2 separate regions of the Homo sapiens genome follow, and region 2 is linked to region 1. The links are contacts of gene promoters, found by promoter capture Hi-C in human tissues and cell types (Jung and others, 2019). All regions are on one chromosome and are shown on one strand. The core of a region is centred on a gene start or on the middle of the fragment in contact, and the rest is flanking DNA. Distances in the headings are between cores, read along the strand shown. Region 1 holds the start of ZNF140 (zinc finger protein 140). Region 2 overlaps GOLGA3 (golgin A3).

Evidence for each region. The method cuts DNA at HindIII sites, captures the fragments that hold promoters and counts their contacts. A contact is called where the count stands out against the background at its distance.
Region 2: a contact is called between a fragment that was not itself captured here and the fragment with the promoter of ZNF140 in region 1, in 1 of the 25 tissues and cell types used here (lymphoblastoid cells).

The regions. Positions count from the first base shown.
Region 1 is chr12:133,078,637-133,083,101 of GRCh38, forward strand. It overlaps ZNF140 (zinc finger protein 140), which reads left to right and starts at 2,287. Exons shown (of 5, transcript NM_003440.4): 1 at 2,287-2,436; 2 at 2,637-2,693. The coding sequence starts at 2,685. RefSeq lists enhancers at 1,316-2,005, 2,076-2,275. The HindIII fragment of the contact is 23,175 bases long and covers 1-4,465 here.
Region 2 is chr12:132,814,894-132,819,358 of GRCh38, forward strand. It overlaps GOLGA3 (golgin A3), which reads right to left. Exons shown (of 24, transcript NM_001389683.1): 3 at 1,647-1,919. Among named protein-coding and RNA genes, the nearest start is that of GOLGA3, 12 kb to the right of the region's middle. The HindIII fragment of the contact is 4,457 bases long and covers 37-4,465 here.

The DNA of each region.
Region 1 (4,465 bases), core at 1,037-3,536:
TTTTTTTGACACAGTCTCGCTCTTTCGCCCAGGCTGGAGTGCAATAGCGCGATCTCAGCTCACTACAACCTTCGCCTCCCAGGTTCAAGCAATTCTCCTGTCTCAGCCTCCGGAGTAGCTGGGATTATAGGCGTGCACCACCACGCCCAGCTAGTTTTTGTATTTTTAGTAGAGATGGGGTTTCACCATGTTTGTCAGGCTGGTCTCAAACTTCTGACCTTGTGATTCGCTGGCCACAGTCTCCCAAAGTGCTGGGATTACATGCGTGAGCCACCACGCCCGGCCTGTATTTTTTTTTTATTTTTATTTTTTGAGATGGAGCCTCACTCTGTCGCCCAGGCTGGAGTGCAGTAGCGCCAACTTGGCTCACTGCAAGCTCCACCTCCCAGGTTCAAGTGATTCTCCTGCCTCAGCTTCCCAAGTAGCTGGGAATACAGGCACCCACCACCATGCCCAGGTAATTTTTGTATTTTTAGTAGAGACGAGGTTACACTCTGGCCTGTTGGCCAGGCTGATTGCAAACTCCTGACCTCAGGTGATCTGCCCGCCTTAGCCTCCCAAAGTGCTGGGATTACAGGCATGAGCCACAGCACCCGGCAACTCCATCTTAAATAAGAACTGGGTAAAATAAGGCTGAGGCATACTGGGCTGCGTTCCAAGACCGTTAGGCATTCTAACTCACAGTATGAGACAGCAGGTCAGCATGAGACACAGGTCATAAAGACCTTGCTGATAAAAGTTTACAGTAAAGAAGCCGGCTAAAACCCACCAAAACCAAGATGGCAATGAGAGTGACTTCTGGCTGTCCTCATTGCTACGTCTTCCACTGTCAGAGGCGGTTGAACCAGGGCAACTCTATCTTGAGTAGGGGCTGGTTAAAATAAGGCTGAGACCTGCTGGGCAGCATTCCCTGGAGGTTAAGGCATTCGTAGTCACAGGATGAGACATGAGGCTGGCACAAGATACAGGTCATAAAGACCTTGCTGATAAAACAGGTTGCAGTAAAGAAGCCGACTAAAACCGAGATAGCGATGAGAACGACCTGATTGTCCTCACTGCCCACCAGTGGCTATGGCAACGTCAGGAAGTTACCCTATATGGTCTAAAAAGAGGATGCATGAATAATCCACCCCTTGTTTAGCATATCATCAAGAAATAACCACAAAAATGCGCAACCAGCAGCCCTCGGGGCTGCCCTGCCTATGGATTAGCCATTCTTTATTCCTTTACTTTCCTAATAAACTTGCTTTCACCTTATGGATTCGCCTCAAATTCTTTCTTGTGCAAGATCCAAGAACCCTCTCTTAGAGTCTGAGATCCGGACCCCTTTCCAGTAGCAAAAGGTCTTAGACTGAAGTACTGACTCCACAGTCGTTGTTAAGAATCCTAGTTGTTTAATAGAGGCGGTCTTGGGCTCTTGCTGGGCCGCGGTGTGTTCTGGGAAGTGTAGTCACCTGAGTCTCCAGTTCCTTGTCTCTGGGCCGTGTGTGCACGCCAGCGAAGCACTGTGGGAGTCGTAGTAGGGGAGGAAAACCCTATACCCTCTGGCGTGCGGCGCAGGAGTTTGGGGGAATGTAGTCGCCAGAGCTCTGCGTTGTCTTCCGGCTTTGGGCGTGGCCACGATGCACTCTGGGAGTCGTAGTAGGGGAAGAACGTCCTCCGCTCTTTTGCGCACGGTCGCTAGAGGTTCTGGGAAGTGTAGTTGCCTGAAGCTCGTGTTCTTTGTCTTTCGATGATGTGCGCTTGGCCTCAAAGCACCCTGGGAGTTGCAGTGGGGCGGGGAAAGCCATATGCTCTCTCGCGCGGGGTCGCGGTTGTTTCTGGGAAGTGTGGTGGCCTGAGTTCCACGTTCTTCGTTTCTCCGCTAGTTGTGCGCTTGGCCGCGAGACACTCTGGCAGTTATAGGAACACAAAGGTCTGTGTACTCTTCCGCGGGGGGCCGCGGTTATTTCTGGGAAATGTAGTTGCCTAGGACCCGGGTTCTTTGTTTCTCGGCTCTGGGCGTGGGAGGATAGCCCCTATGCTCTGGCGCACCGGGCCGCGATGGCTCTGGGAATTGTAGTTGTCGCAGGCCCTCGTTCTTTGTCTCCTGGCGTTCTGGGCACGGCAGCGAGGCGCTCTGGGAGTTCCAGTAGGAACGAAAAGCCCTTGCGCGCAGGGCCGCATTGGTTTCTGGGAATTGTAGTTTCTTGAGGCCGGCGGCCTGGTTGGGGTGACGTCGGCGAGGCTTCTGAAGACGCAATTCCTGCGACGCCCGCGGAGGGGCCCTGGGGGGCGGCGCCGAGCGTCTGGCCTGTGTTGGCTGTAGGCAACGAAAGGAGCCCTCCCGGTCTGCGCCGGATGGCCCCGGGCGGTGACTCGGTCCGGAGCCCTGGAACGCTACGCCCACCTGGCGGAAAGCACCACGGAAACGCATCCTTCTGTGGCCACTGTTAGGTGAGGGGGTTCTGGGGAGGCGCGCCGTGGCAGGAAGAGAAAGCCGGCGCCAGTGGTCCAAGCGCGATCTCTCAGGGCGCCCTGCTCTCTACGTGGGAGGCGCGGAGCGGGGGCCACGGGAATCCCCAGTGCGGGAATCTAGTGACTTGGGCGCGGCCTAGCTGGCCTGTTCGCTCAGGGCTCCTTTCTCTCTCTGCCAGGTCTGCCATTTTACACTTTTCTGATCTCCTCCTTCCCTTCTGTGAGCTATGTCTCAGGTAAGCTAATGATTGATAAATATATATATATATATATATATAAATTTTTATTTTTTTTTTAAGAGAGAGACAGGGTCTCCTCCTGTCGCCCAGGCAGTGGAGCGATCATAGCATCCTGTAACCTCAAACTCTTGGCCTCAAGTGAGCCAACCCACTTGGCCTGTTTCCGCTTTTCTTTGTGAAGTGCAGCCGTGTTTTTCAGGACTTGGGACGTGGCTTTCTTTCTCCTACAACCACCTGCCTGGCAGAACCCCAGGACCCTGTCCCTTGTTCCTCCTTTTCAGGTGCTTATACTTAAGTATACATGAAGAGAGTGACAGGAAGCTATCCAGATGTGGGCGGGGTTTCTGACCTGGCTGGCATGTTTTAGGGTGAGAGGGTAGGGTGCCAGCTGTTACATCGCCTCCTCTTTCCCACAGTGTTAGAATGAGGAGTGCTTTACGTTACTCCAGCGCCCCTTTATTCATTTATTCAATATGTTTTTACTGAACCTCTACTTTCAGTGGTTCCCACAGTGTGATCCTTGGACCAGCAGTATCAGCATCATCTGAGAACGTATTAGAAATGAATATTCTTGAGTCCTACCCCAGACCTTCTGAATCAGAAACTGAGAATTTGGCCCAGCAGTCTAACAGTCCTTCCAAGTGATTCTAATGTGCAACTCATTCTAAGTCTTGAGGATGCAGAAGTGACCAAAACAAAATCTCCGAATCCTCAGAGCTCATTTTTCAGACATGACATAAGGAACACATTTTTATTTTGATTTGGCCTAAGGGCTTGGCTGGTAATTGTGCTTCACAGCAGTGGGGATAACAGGGTCAACTATTCAAAATGAGTCCCTCATTTCAGTTCCACTTCTTTATCCTACTTTTTGTCATACTTCTCTCCAAATTCAGAGGTTCTCTGAGTTTTGCTGGGGAATCCAATTTCCACCTCTGCTGCAGATCTTGCTGTGTAGGAAACAGCTGCTTTATTAGTCAACAGTCTTTAATCACTTTTTTATTAAACTTCAAAACTGTAAATTATAACTGCCATCCATCTGGGACTGCTACTAGTTTGAGACATTTTAAATTCCCATTCATGCCTTATAGATCAATGTGGATCACTCAAGTGGTGCAAAACCAGGCTGCAAAGCAAGGGCTTATATATTATTCCCCCTAACTCTGAGGGAAAGTGCTTTAGGTTCTGTCCTGGGAGGTATTACATTCTCTTCTTGCGGAATCAAGATTCTTTATTGCTTATCCTCCTTGTTCTGTGACATTGCTAAAATTACCACTAAGTTTCACAGGTATTTCTTTAGGATTAGGGATAACTGTGACAAACTTGAGACTGTATGCCCCATTTGAAGGGTGGTGCTGTTATCTGCTGTAGCGAATTATTACCCTGAAGAAATTCTGGCTGAATTATATTAAAATAGGCTGGTATTAAGGAAAATATACATTGTTTATTAACATAAAGGAATACTGTAAAATCTTAAGAATTTTTACAACCAATGCCAAAAATCCATATTGTTCATGTGTATAATCCTTTATTTTGAATAAAATTGTAAATTATCTCAGGACAGATAATTTATGTTTTTCTCCTTTTCTCCAGTTATACAACAAAACACAAGAGCTAGGCTCTTCATTATATAATTACTCAGAATTCTGAAAACTCTCACTGTTACTACTTAGACACATTGCCTAACCTCCACAGTGAGACTCATTTTATTCCTTGATGAGGGAGTTTGGGGGCATGCGTGCTGGTCATGCAAATATCTGTCCGTCATTTCA
Region 2 (4,465 bases), core at 1,015-3,514, 260 kb before region 1:
CCCAGGGCTCCACTTCCCAGGACTGAGTGTGTGGCCTCATCCTTCCTAAGCCATCAGCAGACACCGCCCGACGGCCTGGGTGCCGACCAGAGTAGGAAAGCATAATCACACAGCAACGCTTTACACATGACACCCTCCTTACAGGTAGATGCTGAGGAGATGAGCAGCTACTGTCCTAAATAATCCCTAACATCTGAGCAGTCACCAAGAATTTCACTGTAAATGTACCATTATTAGTTTATACATTTTATCACTGAAAAGATCTCTAGTCCTTTTCACATGGCAAAGTGGTCCAGATGGCTAGACCGTAAGTGGCAAATTCAGGCCTATGGCCACCAGGCAGATATTTATATAAGTCGGCAAAATAAGCAGGGTTTCAACCAAACACTGACGCAGGAGATAGGCTCAGGGCCAGGCGCCAGCAGGAACAGGTGACCAGGGGCATCCCGCAAAGGTGTGCACGTAGACCCAGCGCTGCTGCCCCAGACACCTGGGCCAGAGCTCACACATCTGTAACTTCAGGACCCCAAAGTAAATAAACTAAGTTGAAAAAAATCAGGAATCTAGACTTTTTTACATGCTACTTCTCAACTTAAATGCTGGCAGTGAGTTTTCAGAATTGTTTCAAATAAACACATGTGAAATGCAGTCTGATTTCAGTAATTTAGGGTTTTTTGTTGTTGTTATTTAGTTTTAAGAAATTTTTAAAAATATACTGCAGGCCAGGTACAGTGGCTCACGCCTATAATCCCAGTATTTTGGGAGGCCAAGGTATGACGATCACTTGAGCCCAGGAGTTCAAGACCAGCCTGGGAAACATGGTGAGACCCCGTTTCTACACACACAAAAAATTAAAATTAGCCAGGTGTGGTGACACGCACCTGTGGTCCAAGCTACTTGACAGCAGAGGCAGGAAGATCCCTTGAACCTGGGAGGCAGAGGCTGCAGTGAGCTCTGACTCTGCCACTGGCCTCCAGCCTGGGCGACAGAGCAAGATCCTGACTCTAATTAAAAAACAAAACAGGCTGGGCCTGGTGGCTCACGCCTGTAATCCCAACACTTTGGGAGGCCAAGGCAGGCAGACCATGAGGTCAGGAGATCAATACCATCTTGACTAACACGGTGAAACCCCATCTTTGCTAAAAATACAAAAAATTAGCCGGGCCTGGTGGCGGGTGCATGTAGTCCCAGCTACTCGGGAGGCCGAGGCAGGTGAATGGCATGAACCCAGGAGGCGGAGATTGCAGTGAGCCGAGACAGCGCCACTGCAGTCCGGCCTGGGCGAAAGAGCGAGACTCTGTCTCAGAAAAAAAAAGCAAACCAAAAAAAACCAAAACAACAGACTGGATGCCCACCGTCTGCTTACCAAGCACCTGGGTGACACAGGACATGCAGGCTGGCCTTTAACGCAAAAGCGTCAGCACTGCTGCCAGTCAGACCACAGCAGAACCTTGACTCCACCTGCATCTTCACTCTCTAACTTGAAGCTCTCCTTGCTAAACTCACAGCCCCACGTGGGACTCAGATGGCACACGGCAGGCACAGGCACACAACAGCTCAGACAGTGAGTGCGCAGGGCACCTGCTCCCAAGGGGCTGAGCGACGCGGACGTGGAGGGTGGGAAAAGCGGGGTAACGGATGCTTACACAGTTGCGTTTCTTGCATAGGAAGACTGAGTCTGAGAGACTGCAAAGCTTCTTTTCTAACACTGCCCTCAGCACTAGTTCCCTGAGACTTCCTTAGGTTGTCATGGAAACCAGCCACACCTGGAGAGGCATCAGGGCCCACTGGGCTTGTGGTGGGATCGAGAGACGACGGAGGGTCTGGGAAGGGTGGCGTTGGCCCGTTCTGACAGAGGCCTCCCTGGCCAGGTCCATCCGGGCTTTCCCCTTCCGTGGATGCTCTGTTTACCTCGGCACCTGGAAAGACAGAGCACGCTGGACCACCATGGCTTTAACAACAAGGTGACGTCGCTTTTCAGACATGCAGCTGGAGTAGGAGAGAAGAGGATCCAGACTCATGAGCACGGCACTTTCTCATCCCACAAAGGCTTCACTCTGAGAGGAGCAGCCCATGGGCCCCGTCCCACAGGCGGGGTGGCCAGGATAAGGCCCACAGCCCCTCTGGTGTCCACGTCCTTCCTGTAAGGTGAACCTGCCCTCCACACCTCCACACTCTAACGTGAACCCGCCCTCCACACCTCTACGCTCTAACGTGAACTCACCCTCCACACCTCCACACTCTAATGTGAACCCGCCCTCCACTCCTCCACGCTCTAAGGTGAACCCGCCCTCCACACCTCCACGCTCTAAGGTGAACCCGCCCTCCACACCTCCACGCTCTAAGGTGAACCCCCCCTCCACACCTCCACACTCTAACGTGAACCCGCCCTCCACTCCTCCACGCTCTAAGGTGAACCCGCCCTCCACACCTCCACGCTCTAAGGTGAACCCGCCCTCCACACCTCCACACTCTAAGGTGAACCCGCCCTCCACACCTCCACACTCTAACGTGAACCCGCCCTCCACTCCTCCACGCTCTAAGGTGAACCCGCCCTCCACACCTCCACGCTCTAAGGTGAACCCGCCCTCCACTCCTCCACGCTCTAAGGTGAACCCGCACTCCACACCTCCACGCTCTAAGGTGAACCCACCCTCCACACCTCCACACTCTAACGTGAACCCGCCCTCCACTCCTCCACGCTCTAAGGTGAACTCACCCTCCACACCTCCACGCTCTAAGGTGAACCCCCCCCCCACACCTCCACACTCTAAGGTGAACTCACCCTCCACTCCTCCACGCTCTAAGGTGAACCCGCCCTCCACACCTCCACGCTCTAAGGTGAACCCACCCTCCACACCTCCACGCTCTAAGGTGAACCCGCCCTCCACTCCTCCACGCTCTAAGGTGAACCCGCACTCCACACCTCCACACTCTAACGTGAACCCGCCCTCCACTCCTCCACGCTCTAAGGTGAACTCACCCTCCACACCTCCACGCTCTAAGGTGAACCCCCCCCCCACACCTCCACACTCTAAGGTGAACTCACCCTCCACTCCTCCACGCTCTAAGGTGAACCCCCCCCCACACCTCCACACTCTAAGGTGAACTCACCCTCCACTCCTCCACGCTCTAAGGTGAACCCACCCTCCACACCTGTACGCTCTAACGTGAACCCGCCCTCCACACCTCCACGCTCTAAGGTGAACCCCCCCTCCACTCCTCCATGCTCTAAGGTGAACCCACCCTCCACTCCTCCATGCTCTAAGGTGAACTCGCCCTCCACACCTCTACACTATAAGGTGAACTCACCCTCCACACCTCCACACTCTTGGCTGTAGAATTTATGTAGTAACGACAGTAACATTTCCTCTTCTCTTTTTTGAGACGGAGTCTCATTCTGCTGCCCAGGCTGGAGTTCAGTCACACAAGCTCAGCTCACTGCAAGCTCCACTCACCAGATTCAAGCGATTCTCCTGCTTCAGCCTCCCCAGTAGCTGGGATTACAGGTGCCCACCACCACACCTGGCTAATTTTTGGTCTTTTTAGTAGAGATGGGGTTTCACCATGTTGGCCAGTCTGGTCTCAAACTCCTCCCCATTCACCAGCCTCGGCCTCCCACAGTGCTGGGATTACAGGCGTGAGCCACCGCACCCAGCCAATGTTTCCTTTCCATTTAAGTAAAACCAATAAGAAATCTTATGAAAGTCGCCAGTTTAAAACAAGCGAAAACCACAAACACTTAAAACACAGCTGACAATCTTTCTAGCAGGCACTGGTAACAGCAGTGTTAATCAGAGTCACAGCCTCACATTTACAAAGGCTGATTTTGGAGTCATTTCAAAGCCTCAGCTTATCCTCCAAGGCGAGGACCCTAAGGCGAAGAGGTGGATGATGTCATCACACCACCCGTGAAGCAGAGACAGCCCAGAACCGCGCTTCTGCTTGATGACAGCCTGCTGGGTAAAGGCCTGGGTTGGACCAGTGACAATTCTATACCCACGTGTTACCTCAGTTCACCCACTAAAATGATTATATACAAATTACCCACAACACAAACTAAAACATATTTCCTCATCAAATGGAACAAAGAAAGATTTCTTTCAATGAAGTGATTTTCAGTCTTTTCCCTGCCCCCTAACTGCTGACTGGTGGGTGGGCCAGTTCACAGTCAAAGAACCAAGACATGTGAGGGGGGAGGGAGGGTCCTCAGGGGGTTCTGGTCCTGGTTCCGGTGGCTCTGGAGGCCCGGCAACACCTCCGTGTCTCACAGGGGTCAGCATTCCTCGGATCCCACGTGCATGCAGGACAGCAAATTTGCTTTTTGCTCAAGCAAATTAAAAATGAGTTTCTTAGCCGGGCGCGGTGGCTCACGCCTGTAATCCCAGCACTTTGGGAAGCTGAGGCAGGTGGATCACGAGGTCAGGAGATCGAGACTATCCTGGCTAACACGGCGAAACCCCGT